Linked DNA regions of Homo sapiens: regions 1 and 3 are each linked to region 2. The links are contacts of gene promoters, found by promoter capture Hi-C in human tissues and cell types (Jung and others, 2019). All regions are on one chromosome and are shown on one strand. Each heading gives the region's core, a stretch centred on a gene start or on the middle of the fragment in contact. The rest is flanking DNA. Distances are from core to core; before and after follow the strand shown. Region 1 has its middle 3.7 kb from the start of MIR4520-1. Region 2 holds the start of NUP88 (nucleoporin 88). Region 3 holds the start of PITPNM3 (PITPNM family member 3).

What was found. Contacts are between HindIII fragments. The study calls those that stand out against the background at their distance.
Region 1: a fragment that was not itself captured here is called in contact with the fragment with the promoter of NUP88 in region 2 in 1 of the 25 tissues and cell types used here (dorsolateral prefrontal cortex).
Region 3: a contact is called between the fragment with the promoter of PITPNM3 here and the fragment with the promoter of NUP88 in region 2, in 1 of the 25 tissues and cell types used here (bladder).

Annotation. Positions count from the first base shown.
Region 1 is chr17:6,656,905-6,661,464 of GRCh38, reverse strand. It overlaps the pseudogene ALOX15P1. Among named protein-coding and RNA genes, the nearest start is that of MIR4520-1, 3.7 kb to the right of the region's middle. RefSeq lists enhancers at 4,048-4,097, 3,872-4,508. The HindIII fragment of the contact is 8,121 bases long and covers 1-4,560 here.
Region 2 is chr17:5,417,992-5,422,977 of GRCh38, reverse strand. NUP88 (nucleoporin 88) reads left to right here and starts at 3,316. Exons shown (of 17, transcript NM_002532.6): 1 at 3,316-3,624. The coding sequence starts at 3,328. It overlaps RPAIN (RPA interacting protein), which reads right to left and starts at 2,796. Exons shown (of 7, transcript NM_001033002.4): 1 at 2,687-2,796; 2 at 1,512-1,682; 3 at 149-209. The coding sequence starts at 2,767. RefSeq lists enhancers at 2,525-2,744, 2,755-2,874, 2,604-3,141, 3,142-3,679, 3,315-3,954. The HindIII fragment of the contact is 11,956 bases long and covers 1-4,986 here.
Region 3 is chr17:6,554,680-6,559,496 of GRCh38, reverse strand. It overlaps PITPNM3 (PITPNM family member 3), which reads left to right and starts at 2,942. Exons shown (of 20, transcript NM_031220.4): 1 at 2,942-3,112. The coding sequence starts at 3,091. RefSeq lists an enhancer at 4,031-4,677. The HindIII fragment of the contact is 12,560 bases long and covers 1-4,817 here.

The sequences.
Region 1 (4,560 bases), core at 314-2,813, 1.2 Mb before region 2:
TCCCCATCAAGTATTCAGCTGAATACAGGAGAGAAGGGGATAAGGTGTTACCTTGAAGATAGGATGTATCGACGGCAGGCACCTCATGGTGGCCACAACAATGACCTGAGCCATCAAGTGTCCCCTCAGAAGATGAGACTGCAGCTCACGGAGCTGGAAGTCAGAGCTGCGCACCCAGCATTGGGCCAGAAGCCAGACCACTGGGGGATCCGTGGGCAGGAAAAGGGGAGGTGGTGGGGATCCTGTGCTGGGCAGCTGGAGCTGGAGCAGGGACAAGTGTGGGGAGAGAAGGCATGAGTGCCCGGCACTCAGCGATTCCCGCCCCCCTTGCATGTTAACCTCGTCCTCCAAACCTGTTCTGCTTTCCCCATCCCACTCCTGCCTCTCCCTACAGCTCCCATTTCCTCCCCTCCCCTTCCTACCAGCTCAGTGCATTAGCACCCTGCAAGCTGCTTTGCCTCCAGCATTCTGCAGAAACTGCTCTTCTGGTGCCTCCTCCAGCCTCCACTTCCCCTTTCAGTCCCCGCATTGTGGACAAGATTCAAACCACCTGCTTCCTCCATCCCACACTGTTTTTCGAAATCTCATCTTTTGGCCCCACCTCTACACAAATGACTGAATCTCTTGTTCTCAGCTGCCTGCTGGACAATTTAAATGTCTTCCCGTTACCTCAACATTGGCCAGACAAAAGTCTACCTGGGCACCCTGTTCTCTTTATTGGTGCTATTTCTGCAGGCACCTGGCCTGGCTCCCCTTTCCCCTCTCCTTCATCTCCCTCTGCACTCGCATCCACCGGTCCTCTCCATCCCGACGGTCACTACCCATATCCGAGCTCCCCTCCTCCTGGGGTCAGTGCTGGGGCATGTTGCCCCAGTCCCTGTTTCTAGCATCTCCCCTCTCCAACCCACCCTAAACACCACTGCCCACACCGCGTGCCTATAGCATGTTTCATCACAGCCTTCTCCAGCTTCCCACTTCATGCTCCTTAGCCTGGCTTAGTCTGGCCCCAGTCCAACTGTCCCCTAGGAATCTCCTGACTCCTCTACCTTAGCCTCTGCCCAGTCTGTCTTGCCCCTGAGGACTGGTCCTTCCTCTCCCTCCTGCTTGTCTGAGACCTGGCCCTCCTCCAAGGCTGGTGACATCCCAACTCCCCGATCCCTCCTGGGCTGTCTCTGTCCTCCGGGACTTCCTCAGTCCCGGAGCTTCTGCAGACTAGCCCTATGTGTCTCTCCAGCTACATTGCAAGGCCTTCGAATAGAGACTTGGCGCATTTCCTCCTTTCGCGTCTCCCTGGTGCCTTAGCCCAGCGCCTTTGAAGATGGTGCTTAGTGCATTTCGATAAGGGGCTGAGCTGAGAAGGCTGGAGACTGGGAGCAGAAATCCTGAGTCCTCTCACCTGGATGACCATGGGCAAGAGTTTCCCATCAGGCTGCAGTTTCAGCATGACCAGAGGGGCAGCCAGGTGCTGCTGGCTACAGAGACTGACGTTGGCCTTGATCCCATCCAGCAGGGAGAAGTCAGCTTCGAACAATGTGCCTCCCTGGGTGCAGGAAGAGGTCAAAGGCTGCTATCAACATAAAGCATCTTCTTCCCACTCGGATTCCTCCAAGGGGGAAGAGAGAGAGAGAGAGGAGAGAGAGAGAGAGAGAGAGAGAGAGAGAGAGAGAGAAGCTAACTTGTCTCCATCACCTACTTTGTACCAGGTAATGGATCATGTGCTTATTGCCTCATATCATTGTTTATTTTTTGAGCCAGGGTATTACTCTGTTGCCCAGGCTGGAGTGCCATGGCGGGACCACCATGGCTCACTGCAGCCTTGACTTCCTTGGGCCCAGGTGATCCTCCCACCTCAGCCTCCCAAATAGCTGGGACTACAGGTGCATGCCACTACACCAAAAGTTACAGGTGCTAATTTTTGTATTTTTGTAGAGGCAGGGTTTCACCACGTTGCCTAGGCTGGTCTCCAACTATTGGGCTCAGGTGATCCTCCTGCCTCGACCTCCCAAAGTGCTGGAATTACAGGTGCAAGCCACTGTGCCCAGCCTTATAATTTTTATACCTAGTTGAACGAGCCTCAGTTGCACAGAAGAGGAAACAGATAATCAGAGAGGCTGGGTATTTTGCCTGAGGTCACACAGCTTACAAATAGCAGAACCAGGATTCACATCCAAGCCTATCTGCCCTTAATCCCATGAATTTCCTCTCTGTTGTTCCATATCGCCTCCTGATGAACAGCCACAGCACTCTGATCCTGACTCTCTTACTCTGCACACTCCCCGAATCCCTAGCACCAGGGGCCAGTCACATTTCTTCATTTGACCCTGTTTCTATCAACCATTCCATCTTGCACGCCCTCCCTCCACAGCTACTCTCGTGTGGGAAGGAGGCCGAGCAGCTGAGCTTCTCCAGGGTCCCTCAGGACCTCTCCTGCAGAATCCGTCCTTGCTGGCTGGCAGCAAGCCAGGCCCACAGTGGGTCCCGCAGCAGCATCATTGGCACTAGGCCACCCCACTTCACTGCTGAGCTTCCTCAGGGCTCTGATGTCCATACCTCCAGCTCCTTCTCCAGCTGGGCCTGCAGTTCCTCCATGCCTGGAGGGAACACTAGGCGAGCAGGAAGGTGAGCAGAGCGCCTCAGCACCACGGGGTTGGCGCCATTAAGAAACTGGTACCCAAATAAGGCATCTTCCTTCCAGGAGTCCCGCACGCGCTCTGGGGAAGGCAGTTGTTGAGCAAGTTGTGGGATCTGAGCTCTTGGTCCTTCCAACCCCACCAACCATGCCCCCTTGACTCCAGCCCACCAGAGGGACCCAAGTCTCTGGTCTCCCCACCCTGCTTCTTTCAATTCCCCTGGGTTGGGTGGGATCTGGGGGTAAGCGTCCTGGGAGACATATTGGGGTGGGGGACTGACCAGCCAGCTTGCTCTGGCCACAGCAGAAAATCTGGTTGAAGTCATTCAGATCATTCTAGCAAGTCGGAACATTATTTTATTTTTGAGATGGAGTCTCACTCTGTCACCAGGCTGGAGTGCAGTGGTGCAATCTTGGCTCATTGCAACCTCCACCTCCTGGGTTCAAGCAATTCTTGTGCCTTAGCCACCCAAGTAACTGGGACTACAGGCGCGTGCCACCACGCCCAGCTAATTTTTGTATTTTTAGTAGAGACAGGGTTTCACCATATTGGCCAGGATGGTCTCGATCTCTTGACCTCGTGATCTGCCCGCCTCAGTCTCCCAAAGTGCTGGGATTATAGGCGTGAGCCACCATGCCCAGCGTCAGAACATTTAGTTTTTGATAGTGAGGTCGGCCAGCCTTCAGGACAGAATGGGGCAAAGGGTTTGAGCATCATTCTGAGACTCCAACATGACAGCCACAGGCACCGACCTTGAGCCGGTCCAGTGCAGTGCAGTGCAGCCCATAAGCCCCTTGGCTTCCACTAGACCAGGACACCTCCCTCTCACCCAGCCTCCCCTTGCTCTCACCCTTTGGCCAGCGAAACCTTAAAGTCAACACTCTTGTCTTCCAGAAATTGCTCATCCACAGGGAGGTCACATAGTTTTGCCCCAGCCACATTCAGAATTAACCCATCCTTCAAGTTTCCCCACCTGTAGGGCAGGAAGGAAATCAGGCGTGGGTGCTGGAAGCATCAGCAGCTCACGTGGGGTCAGGGGAGGAGGGCTCACCGGTACAACTTCCTTCTCTCTTCCAGCTCCTCTTCCTGGTGTTTCTGGAACAGGCCTCGAGGGTCGTCGCCCACAGTACGGCCTAGAAGGCCAGAGGAGGGCTTGGCCAGTGACTTTTGGTGAGCGCCTCTTCTCGCCCCTGCCAGGAGAGCCTCATCACTCCGTCCTTCTGTGTGACCCCTGCCTCTTCAGCATCACGCCCCTCCCCCAGGCTCCAGCCACTTTGTGCCAGCTGCAGCCACAGCCCCTTCGACACTCCCAAAGAGCCCTGCGCTCCAGGTTCCAGCACCCCCATCCTGCGCCCTCTTCTCCACACGCGCATCCCCCCAGCTTCTCTCGCACCCCAGAGGCCTCCTGACACCCCCAGCCCCGCGCTTACTGGTGCCTTCAGGCAGGCTCAGGACGCCGTCGACCTCCACCCAGCGGTAACAAGGGAACCTGACCTCGTCCCCGGCTCCGGGGCCCTACACGGAGATCCAGCTGCAGAACCTGAAGGAAGTGACGTTTGCGCAGTTTCACAAACATCAGCGGCCCCAGGTACTCCGGTACTTCCACCTTGAGTTCTGTCTCCTGCGGGCGACAGAAGAGGCTCAGCCCCGGTGGGGCCTGGCGGGAGGGGCACCCGGCTGAGCCCTGCTCCCTCCAGCGCCCACGCCCTTCCTCGGAGCCTCTGAGAGGAGGAGACGTATCGGGGTGGGGGGACTGAGCCAGAGAGAGAGGGACCGCGCCGAGCAGGTGGCCCCAGGACTCGGTTCTGAGGGGACGGGGACGGCAGGTGGGAAGGTGCGCTCCTGCCTTCACTTTCTCCTCCCTGTGGTCACTGACTGTGCCAAGCGCTGGGCTGAGCGCTGCCGCGCCCTGGACGAGCGCGCTGTGGAG
Region 2 (4,986 bases), core at 2,067-4,566:
CAAGATGTCAGAGTACAAAAGGAGTCTTTTGGACACTTGACTGATGGAGGTAGACAAAGGGGACTTATAAACTAATCCTGATTGGAGGAAAGGTCACAGTATTCCAGTAGCTAAATACAGGTAAGGAAGGACTACCACTAGGGGTTACCTTGGTTGATCAGCTCCTGTTGAATTTCCTCCAGCACAGCCATGTCTATCAGCTCCTCCAGCTGGAAGAGAAAGGAGCGGCATCAGAAGTTTGAAGTATTAATCACCAACCAAGCCCCACAGTGATTCATACTTGGAGGCTGGCTTGAAGAACCCAGATTTATTGGACAAAATCAGTCCAGTCCTCCTGCAGAATATGCTGACAGTGGGGTAATGCTGTCATGCTGACAAGCCATCAACAAATGATCCAACTATCCAGTGACAAAATAATGGTACCCAATTTTGGAGAGACGATATAGGGTAGCAGTTAGGTACATATTCTTCCAAGGCTACGTAACCACATGAAAAGTTCCTAATCTCTGCAAATCTCAGTTTTGGCCTCTGTAAAGTGGGAATAAAATCTATCTAAGAGGGTTACTGTGAGTACTAGTTGTGGTGATATAAGGCAAACATTGGTGTACTGCAGGACACACAAAAGCCACTGAATAATGCATCATTATTACACAGGGTGTTGATGGTTTCAAACAGTTGCCCACATTTTCTTACACAGTCCTTACAATGCTGAAAACATTATCTTCTCATTTTATAAATGTGAAAACTAAACCTCAAAGAGGCAAACTGAAGTTAACAGTCAATAGCCAAACCAGGATTTGAATTCTGGAACTCCTGACTTCGAATCCAGTGTTCTTCCTGATACACTATAAATGGTTTTCCCTTCCACACATGGCTGCCAACGTTGGCTGAGATTAGAATCGGAAAGTTTCTGGAGACCTTTTTAGAAAGAGATTCCTGACGTGGGCAGATCACTAGAGGTCAGGCGTTCAAGACCAGCCTGGCCAACATGGTGAAACCCCATCCCTGCTAAAACAGAAACAAAATTAGCCGGGCATGGTGGCACACATCTGTAATCCCAGCTACTTGGGAGGCTGAGACAGGAGAATCGTTTGAACCCAGGAGGTGGAGGTTGCAGTGAGCCGAGATCTTGCCACTGCACTCCAGCCTGGGCGACAGAGCAAGACAGAAAAAAAAAAAGAGCGAGAGAGAGGGAGAGAAAGAGATTCCTAGCCTATGCCTACTGAATCATAATTTCCAAGGGTGGAGGCAAGAAATGAAATTTCTTTCTTTTTAGTTTCATAAATGATGATGTTGCAGTGATGAGCAGGTCTACGGTCTGGTATTTCAGACCATTTCATCTAGACAAGTCTAACATTAAGTGTAGAAAAGCCTGGGTTAAAGGCTGTTGAATTCTAAATGGGGTTAGGGGAATGGTGGGTTTAGAGGACTCAAGTAAACAAATAAAAGAGGACACGAGCCGTTCTTGGTGGTGCAGTCCCCCTCCCTGAAAACACATAGCCCAGCCTGACCTGAGCCAAGTCTTCTGGACAATTCTCCACTGACTGCAAAGCATTCCACTCTTCTTCCATCACCTCTTGAACTAGAAAGCTGTTCTGAGAATTCCCTGGCCCACTGCTTCCAGCCTGGCGGTACCTGTTTAGGAGCCTGTCCCGGCTGTTTCTCATTCTCTCCAGGCATCTCTGGGAAAAAAGAGCAAGATTGGGGGGGAAAAAAAAAGCATTTCTATTTTTAAAAAACACTCTTACATTAGTTGAGAAAACATTAAAGAAAGTTTATAGACACAAAATTTCAATGATAATACTAACTAGTGTTACTTTTGCATATTCCTCTGTAGAGATACATAAAATTACAATGCTTTGTACACGTATTTACAAAGAACCATATTTTTTATTCTAGCTTGCCAGTTTCCTTAATGGTTGTGTGCATAATATCTCAGCATCCAATGTCCTATTACAGAACATTTATATTCCTTCCAAATTCTTGCTACTCTAGATATGGCTGGGTAACGGCCTTCCTGCACAGCAGCGTTTCTGAACTCAGGGAGGTTTTGTCCCCCAAGGAACATTTGGCAATGCTTGGAGACATTTCTGGTTGTCACAATTCTAGTTATAGGACTATTAGCATCTAGTGGGTGGAGGCCCGAGACGTGGCTTAAACAACCCTCCACAACATATAAATATCTCCCTCAAAATGTCCATTGTCAAGGCTGAGAAACTCTGCTGTATCTGCTATCTTTCTTGCGTCGGGTTACTTTCTTGGACATTACTTACTAATAACCACACTGTGTTCAGAAGAGGCCAGAACTGAGGTGGAGCCCTCTTCTAAGCCTCATTTTACTACTCTCTAGAATAGAAATCATCTCTATCTCACAAGACGAACGTAGACAAAGTGCCTCTCTCGGTGGCCACCTCCGCAGCAACAGTAGGTAGTGTTATTGCAGAGGTGCAAACGGTGATGTCCTGACCACAATTTAAATTCAAAACAAAATCGAATCCAAAAACAAGGCTTTCTAGGACTTGACCGACCCGGGCTAATCCCACACTCTACAGTCAGCAGGCCTGGGTTTGACCAGACCAGGCGCGCTGCGGCACCTGCTCCACGGAGCAGGGCTAAGGCGAAGGCAGGGAAGACGGCGGTCACCGGGACGATCTAGGGTAGACCACTGCACAAACCCCATACCCACCTGCCGGAAAGCCTCTTTCCAAGGCGGCGAGCCCACCAGTTTGTACAGGGAGCGGCGCGGAGACCTCAACGACTCCGCCATCTCCTCTTCGCGGGAGACAAAGCCACAAGACCCGTTCCCTGGAGGCGCGCACAGACCCCTGGGAGGTGTACTTTCCGGGTGCAGACCGCGAATGGATCGCAGCGTATTCTGGGAAGTGTTGTTTTATCGACCGGCCCCACGTGGAGACAGATTTAGGCATCCAAGCGAAATGCGTGAGGCCAGCCCGACCTGCACTGAGGGAGGTAAGTCTTGAGGGAAAGTTCTGGATGCCTGGGTTTACCCAGATGGAGGTGTCCAATAGGCAATTAGATACACAAGTCTCAGGCTCTCCCCAGGTGCTAGATTTCCAGCAGCACCACCATTATGTTGACTTCTCGTCCCGCCCCCTTGGGCTTCAGAAATAATGGTGATTGGCTTTCCCTTGGTGACGCCCCTGCTTGGTGGGCTGGCCTCGCCTTCGCCCCCCGACCTGGCACGAGCCTCTCGAGCTTCCGGGCCGTCTGCTCGGTGATTGGCCGAAACAGTGAGTGGACGGCCGCGGATTGGCTGTGCTCAGCGGCGGGCTGAGCAACTGGAGTGAGGGGAGCAGTTGGGCCAAGATGGCGGCCGCCGAGGGACCGGTGGGCGACGGCGAGCTGTGGCAGACCTGGCTTCCTAACCACGTCGTGTTCTTGCGGCTCCGGGAGGGACTGAAAAACCAGAGTCCAACCGAAGCTGAGAAACCAGCTTCTTCGTCGTTGCCTTCGTCGCCGCCGCCGCAGTTGCTGACGAGAAACGTGGTCTTTGGCCTCGGCGGAGAGCTTTTCCTGTGGGACGGAGAAGACAGCTCCTTCTTAGTCGTTCGCCTTCGGGGCCCCAGCGGCGGCGGCGAAGAGCCCGCCCTGTCCCAGTACCAGGTAATGCCAGGCCGATCTTGGAAGTGACCCTCACCGGGATCGGAACCAGTCTTTTTTGTTCCTTGCTCCTCTTGGCTGTTTTTCATCTTGTGGCAGGCGTTCCAGCGGATTGACTCCGACGCTGCCATACGCGGTCGCGGGGACTCAGGCTCTCTCGATGCTTACGGCCTGGAGGCCTGGGAGGAAGGAAAGGGTCATTGAATATTCAATAAAAATACTAGTGACGGATGAGTGCTCTGGAGAAAAACAAAGCGGGCTAAAGGGGTTGAGAACGAGTGGGCGGAGTTGCTATTTTTAGTTTCGTCGAGAGAAACCTGTTTCCTGATGTGACGCTTATAATAGGTTAGATCGTAACTTTCTCTTGCGTTGTGCACAGCAAGTCAGGTTGCAGGTTTCAAAGCACCACGCTTCATGCTTGACATGGAGGAGGAAGTCTCTGTTAATTCTTACCCCCGTAACGCCCGCTTTAGAAAATAAAGCCATACCCAAAATGGGGATTTTTGTTTTTGATTAGCCGACAGCATGTGAAAATGGGTGTGATCCAGAAAGTATTACACACTTGCCGTGGTCAAATATTGGTTTATGGAAATGTTTATTTGTAATACACAGATTCTCTTAAAGATGAAAAAGAGCTTGGTACTCATTCTAAGGTATGACATCTGTTGTGTGCCCGGTCCAATTCTTGTTACCGAGAAGTGATTTAATTTTAATAAGACGCTAGCAATGCTTCTGCAGTTTTGAAAATAGGGCAGGAGTCTACAGTCTACTTATTTACCCAATTTCAGTTAAAAAGAATTATGAAGGCCGGGCGCGGTGGCTCACGCCTGCAGTCCCAACACTGGGAGGCAGAGGCAGGTGGATCACCTGAAGTCAGGAATTCGAGACCAGCCTGGCCAACATGGTGAAACCCCGTCTCTACTAAAAATACAAAAATTAGCCAGGTGTAGTGGCGCGCCCTTGTAATCCCAGCTACTCAGGTGCCTGAGGCAGGAGAATCGCTTGAACCTGGGAGGAGGAGGTTGCAGTGAGCTGAGATCACGCCCCTGCACTACAGCCTGGGCAACAGAGCAAGACTGTGTCTCAAAAAATAATAATAATTACCAAATGTGCAGCACGCAGTATTCTAATAACATTCTATACTGCTGTGTAGCATTTGACATAATCATAACTTAATTATTTATAATTATTTTGTGTCTTTTTTTTTTTTTTGAGATGGAGTTTCGCTCTTGTTGCCCAGGCTGGAGTGCAATGGCGCCATCTCGGCTCACCGCAACCTCCACCTTCCAGTTTCAAGCGATTCTTCTGCCTCAGCCCCCCCCGCGAGTAGCTGGGATTACAGGTATCTGCCACCACGCCCGACTA
Region 3 (4,817 bases), core at 1,693-4,192, 1.1 Mb before region 2:
CCACCTGGAGCTCTCCAACCTGTCCACATCTCTGCACACGTCCTCCACAGCCATTGACAGGATGGGCCCCTGCTCATTTTTACTGGTTCTCTGGGCTAGATGCTTGCCTGGGCCTGGGAGCAGCTGGCCACTGTGAAGGCAGGAGCAGAACAAGCTGTGGTCAGAGGAAAGGGCCTGGGTGCCAGGTCTCAGAGAAGGGATTTGATCTGGTCTCCTGGCACAGTAACTCTGGTAACTGGGAGAGTTACTGGCACAGTAACTCTGGTAACTGGGAGGCCCCGTAGGCCCTGGCTGGCTCCTGCCTCTCTTTCCTCCGGGCAGCAGAGGTCAGCGTGGCTAAATTGCTAGTTATCCCTTTCTTCAATTAAGGACAATTCTTCTGACGCAGGAAGTTAACTCCCACCAGTTAATCTAATGGCCTTGAGTTTTGATGTGTTTGCTCTGTCAGAAGGCTGGGCTGGAACTTCCTTGGCAGCTGGTAACAGTCAGTGCCTTCAGGGGCTGCCTTAGGGGCGGACAGAGGCTGGGGTGAAGGTTTAAAGAGGGGAACCATGGATCTGGGCCTCTGAGTCGTGGTTTTCAGGGGACAGATCTGGCTTACTGTCTTCCCATCTGAGAAATGGGGTGTGGAGTGGTCTGGAGAGATGAGTTCTGAAACTCCCATCAACTTGGCACCTCCCCTTAACCGCTCCACCCAGGCCCTTCTGGGTGACTAGTTTAGGGTTTGTGAGGACTAAGTGGTGGGAGGGGAAGGGGTCTGGGTGCCCACCCAGGGAGCATCTGTCAGCAGGTGTTTGCCTGTGTTTGTGTGTACGAGTGTGCCTACACACACCCATGCATGCATCCCTAAGCACACACAAGCACACACACATACACCCCATGCACACATACCCAGGCACACACACAAACACAACGTGAAGCTGTGCCCAGAAGCAGGAGGGCCCTTGATGCCCTCTGGTCACTGCTGCTACTGTGAGCCAGGGCTGGGGAGGAGCTCAGGCCCAGGCGTGTCCCCTCTGTGGCAGGCGCATTGCTTCTTCTGCAGCCAGCGTTCTGTCTCCTGCGTGACCACTCACACCTACAGACCAGGTGGCCAAGCCTGGACATTGTCCAGGCTATCAGGCCTCTGAAACACCTCAGGGAAGGGTGAGGCCAGTGAGGCCCAGTAGACAAAGCACAGGGGCCTGAAATTGATCCTCCATGACCACAAGCACCGAACTTTCTTAGCCCCCACTTCGTTATGTGTATGCTGAGGATAACGCAATGTAGCTGAGAGAGTACATGAGGGTAAATACCGCCTGTTCAATCAATAGTCCTTGTTATTCTCATCCCCAGTCCCATTCTCATAGTGGGGAAAGGCTGCAGGGTCCATTCCTGCTCTCCCAGCTGGTGACCAATGGCAGGTGCTGGTGAACAGCGTTGGATTCAGGAGCCCAGAGCTTCTGAAATTCTACATCTGTTGGAGTTGGTGCTGTCATCTGGCTCTGGGATCCAGAGCTCTTGGGACTCATGGGTTTCCTGGGAGGTGAGCTCTGGCAAACGTGGATGGTTGTTCTCCCTGGGTGAATCCATACTAGGGAGTTTGGGTAGAAGGCCTTGGGAAGCCCTGGTTTTGTTGGGTGAGGTGTCGGAAGGCAGAGCAGAACTCATGGATGGGACATGCGGGTTGTAGATTTCAGCTCAAACGAGTAAGAACATTCTTAAGGCCAGCACTAGCCAAAAAAAAAAAAAAAAAATTAATAAAAGGAAGAACTCTCACTTAAGATACTGAGCTTCCTGTCCTTGGAGGTAACCAACCAGGAGCTGGAGGACTGCTTAGCAGGAATCTTGTGAATGGAGTCAAAGCCCCAGAGAAGGCACTGGACTGAGAGCCCCCATCTAACCCCATGTGTGCCCTGTTTCCATAGAGGAGCTTGCAGGACCCTGGAGCCTGGACCATGGATGGAATTCTCCAGTTGACCTTTTCCCTGTTAAGTGGAGTGGGACAGGGTGGGTTGGGTGCCTGGCTCTACAGATGGTAACTGGGCTTCAGCCTTACCAATTCCTGGGGGAGGCAGGGCACCCTCTCAGTGGAGGGTTGTTACCTCTCAGGCACCGCCAAATACAATTGGCCATCTCCTGCTCTCTTTTGGGGCTGGACTGTGGATCCCTGCTGCCCCTAAACAGAAGTCATAACCCATATCTCCCCGGACCACAAGGCCTGTCCACTAGAATCTCTGCATCCCGATTTAGGAAGTGGAAGGCGGGTACTGCTCACCACCAGGCCGCTGGGGTCCACAAAGCCTGCTCCAGCCTAGAACCCCAGGTGGATGTGCAAGTGTTTTACTTATCCCTTGAGGGTTAAAATCACGGGAATCCTTTCTCTTTTGAGGTTAGGTCAGACGCCATAAATGATCCAGAACCCCTGGAGCGGGGGCTGATGGAGGGGGTCCCTCTCTTGTCTCTGATCCCAGAGCGACTTTCCTCTTGACTTCGTGGGGGCCTCCCTTGGATCCCTGTCCTCCTTCCTCTCTCCGCTCCCTCTGTCCGTCTCTCCCGGAGCCGGAGCCGGGCTCTGGGTCTCTGGTCTCCTCTGAATTTCTCTCTCTCTCCCTCCACCTCGGCGTTCTGGCCCTAGGAGCGTCTCTCTCCAGCGCTGTCTAATAGTCTGTGCGCCCCTCTCCCAGTCCAGGGCCCCGTCTCTGGCCCGCAGTGTCTCGGGCTGTCTCCGCGTCTCTGAGCCCCTGGGCTGCCGCCCCTCGCGCGCTGCGGTGGCCGCGCGGGCCGGAGCGGAGCGGGCTGGAGCGCGGCGGCCACGGCCCGGGGCGGGGGTGCGGGCCCGCGGGGGCGGCGTTGGGCGCCTTCCTTCGTCAGTCCCTCCCCGGCGGCGCGGGGGGTGGGGTGGGGGGGGGGCGCGGCCGCCGCTCGGCGCCTTTAAGGGAGCGGGAGGGAGCGGCGAGGCGGCGGCGGCTGCGGTGGCGGCAGCCGAGGCGAGCGGGGCGGGGGCGCGGGCGCGGCGCTCGGAGTCCGTTCGGGGCCGGAGGCGGTCGGGGCCGGGCCCGGGAAGCGCGAGGAGCGCGCGTAGCGCCGCCGGAGCCCGCCGCCCGGGACATGGCCAAGGCGGGCCGTGCAGGTGAGGGCGGGCGCGGGGAGGGCAGGGCCGGGGCCCGGGGGAGGGACTCGCGCGTCTAGAGGAGGGGCCGCCGGCCCAGGTGAACCCCTCGCGCAGGTGGGCGGAGGTCCCGGGAGGGCGTAGGGGGCGGTAGCGGGGCTGGACCTCCCGCGCGTGGAGAGGGGGCTCCGCGCGCCCCCCGTCCTTCCTGCGCCCCCGGTCACCTCGGGGGACACCGCGTCCCCTTCTCCACGGCCCCGCCGGAAAGGGCCAGGTCTGCGGCGCCCCGGGCCAGTCCCGCCGTTGGGAGCCCTCTGCACCCCGCGGAGGCCCCGGGCAGACCCGGGCTTCGCCACCGAAGGGGATGTCCCGCGGCCGCCGCTTCGTCCCACACCCCAACGCAAACCGGGACGCGCCCCCTGCTCCTGCAGCTCTCTCCATCCAGGACGCCACAACCCCCCGCCCCAGCCCCCGTCACCAGCTCAGTCCAGAGACCCAGATTCCTTCTCGGGAAGGAGGGGAGCCCCGTGCCGCGCCGGCTGCTGGCCGCCCCGCCCCCTCCCCCATCGACCCTGGGACGCAAAGCCTCAGCTGCGGAGGCCTCTTCTGGGGTCCCGTGGGCTCTGCCCTCCCCCAGGCTCAGACGGTGTAGCCTGTGGTTTGAGGGAGCGGGCATTAGTCATTCGTTCATTCATCCAGCCCGACGTTCATTCACTAGCATCTGCTCTGTGCCAGACCCTGAGCTGGGCACCGGGGCTCAGGCGGACTCAGCCCCCCTGCTGCGCCCATGCTGGGGAGACCCAGGCCCGTGACTCATCGGGCACATTCTGGGCCCGATGGTGCCTTGGGAGGCGGGTGGAGGACAGCTGTGCCCACAGGGCCGGCCATACAGTAGGCGGCAGCAAGCCTGGTCTCGGCAGTGCCTCTTGTGAGGCTGGCGTGTGAGAATCTACCATGAACTCACACCCAACCCGTGACGTTGGCTGGTGCCATGCCGTCCCCCAGGACCGGGCGCGACAGTGAAGGAATGGGTGTGAATACCATCGGGCTGTGTGTCAATCCACCCCCAAGCCCGAAAGCTGCCCGGGACCCTGGGCTGCGGACCCGTCTCCCTGTGCAGGCACTGAGCCTGTAAGATTTAGGTGCCTGAGAATGCACTCCCGTTCTGTCCCCAAGGAGTCCTGTCGGGGTGGGGCCGGTTGTGTGAGGCACAGCCAGTATGGAACACAGCTAAACAGCCTTCTCACTCCCCTCCCTTTTCCCCTCCTGAGGGAGGCACTGTGAGATGACACCAAGGAAGCTGAAAAAGGCTTCTTGCCTCCCTCTTTCCTCCACCGTGCCTGGGTCCTCACCCACCCCGACTCCTTAAAATGGCCTGTGGCAGGGCGTGTGTCCCATCTGCTGCCCTACCCTGTGTGTGTGTGAGTGTGTGTGTGCACTGGGACGCCTTGAGCACAGGTCACCTGCCAGGGCACTGTCATCGCAACGGCAGTGAACATTTGCTGCTTGTTCTATGTATTAGGCAGAGTGCTAAGCTCTTTACTGTACCGTGATCCTGGGAGGGAGGAAATGCGACTCTCCCACTTTTAAAACATCTAGAAACAGATACTCAGAGAAATAGCAGCCTCAAGGTGGCTTAGAGGGTCTGGGCAGAGCCTGGACTCACAGCCAGGTCTATTGGACTCGAAGGACTCTCTCTGTCACTGCCCTGATAGGTCACCCCCTT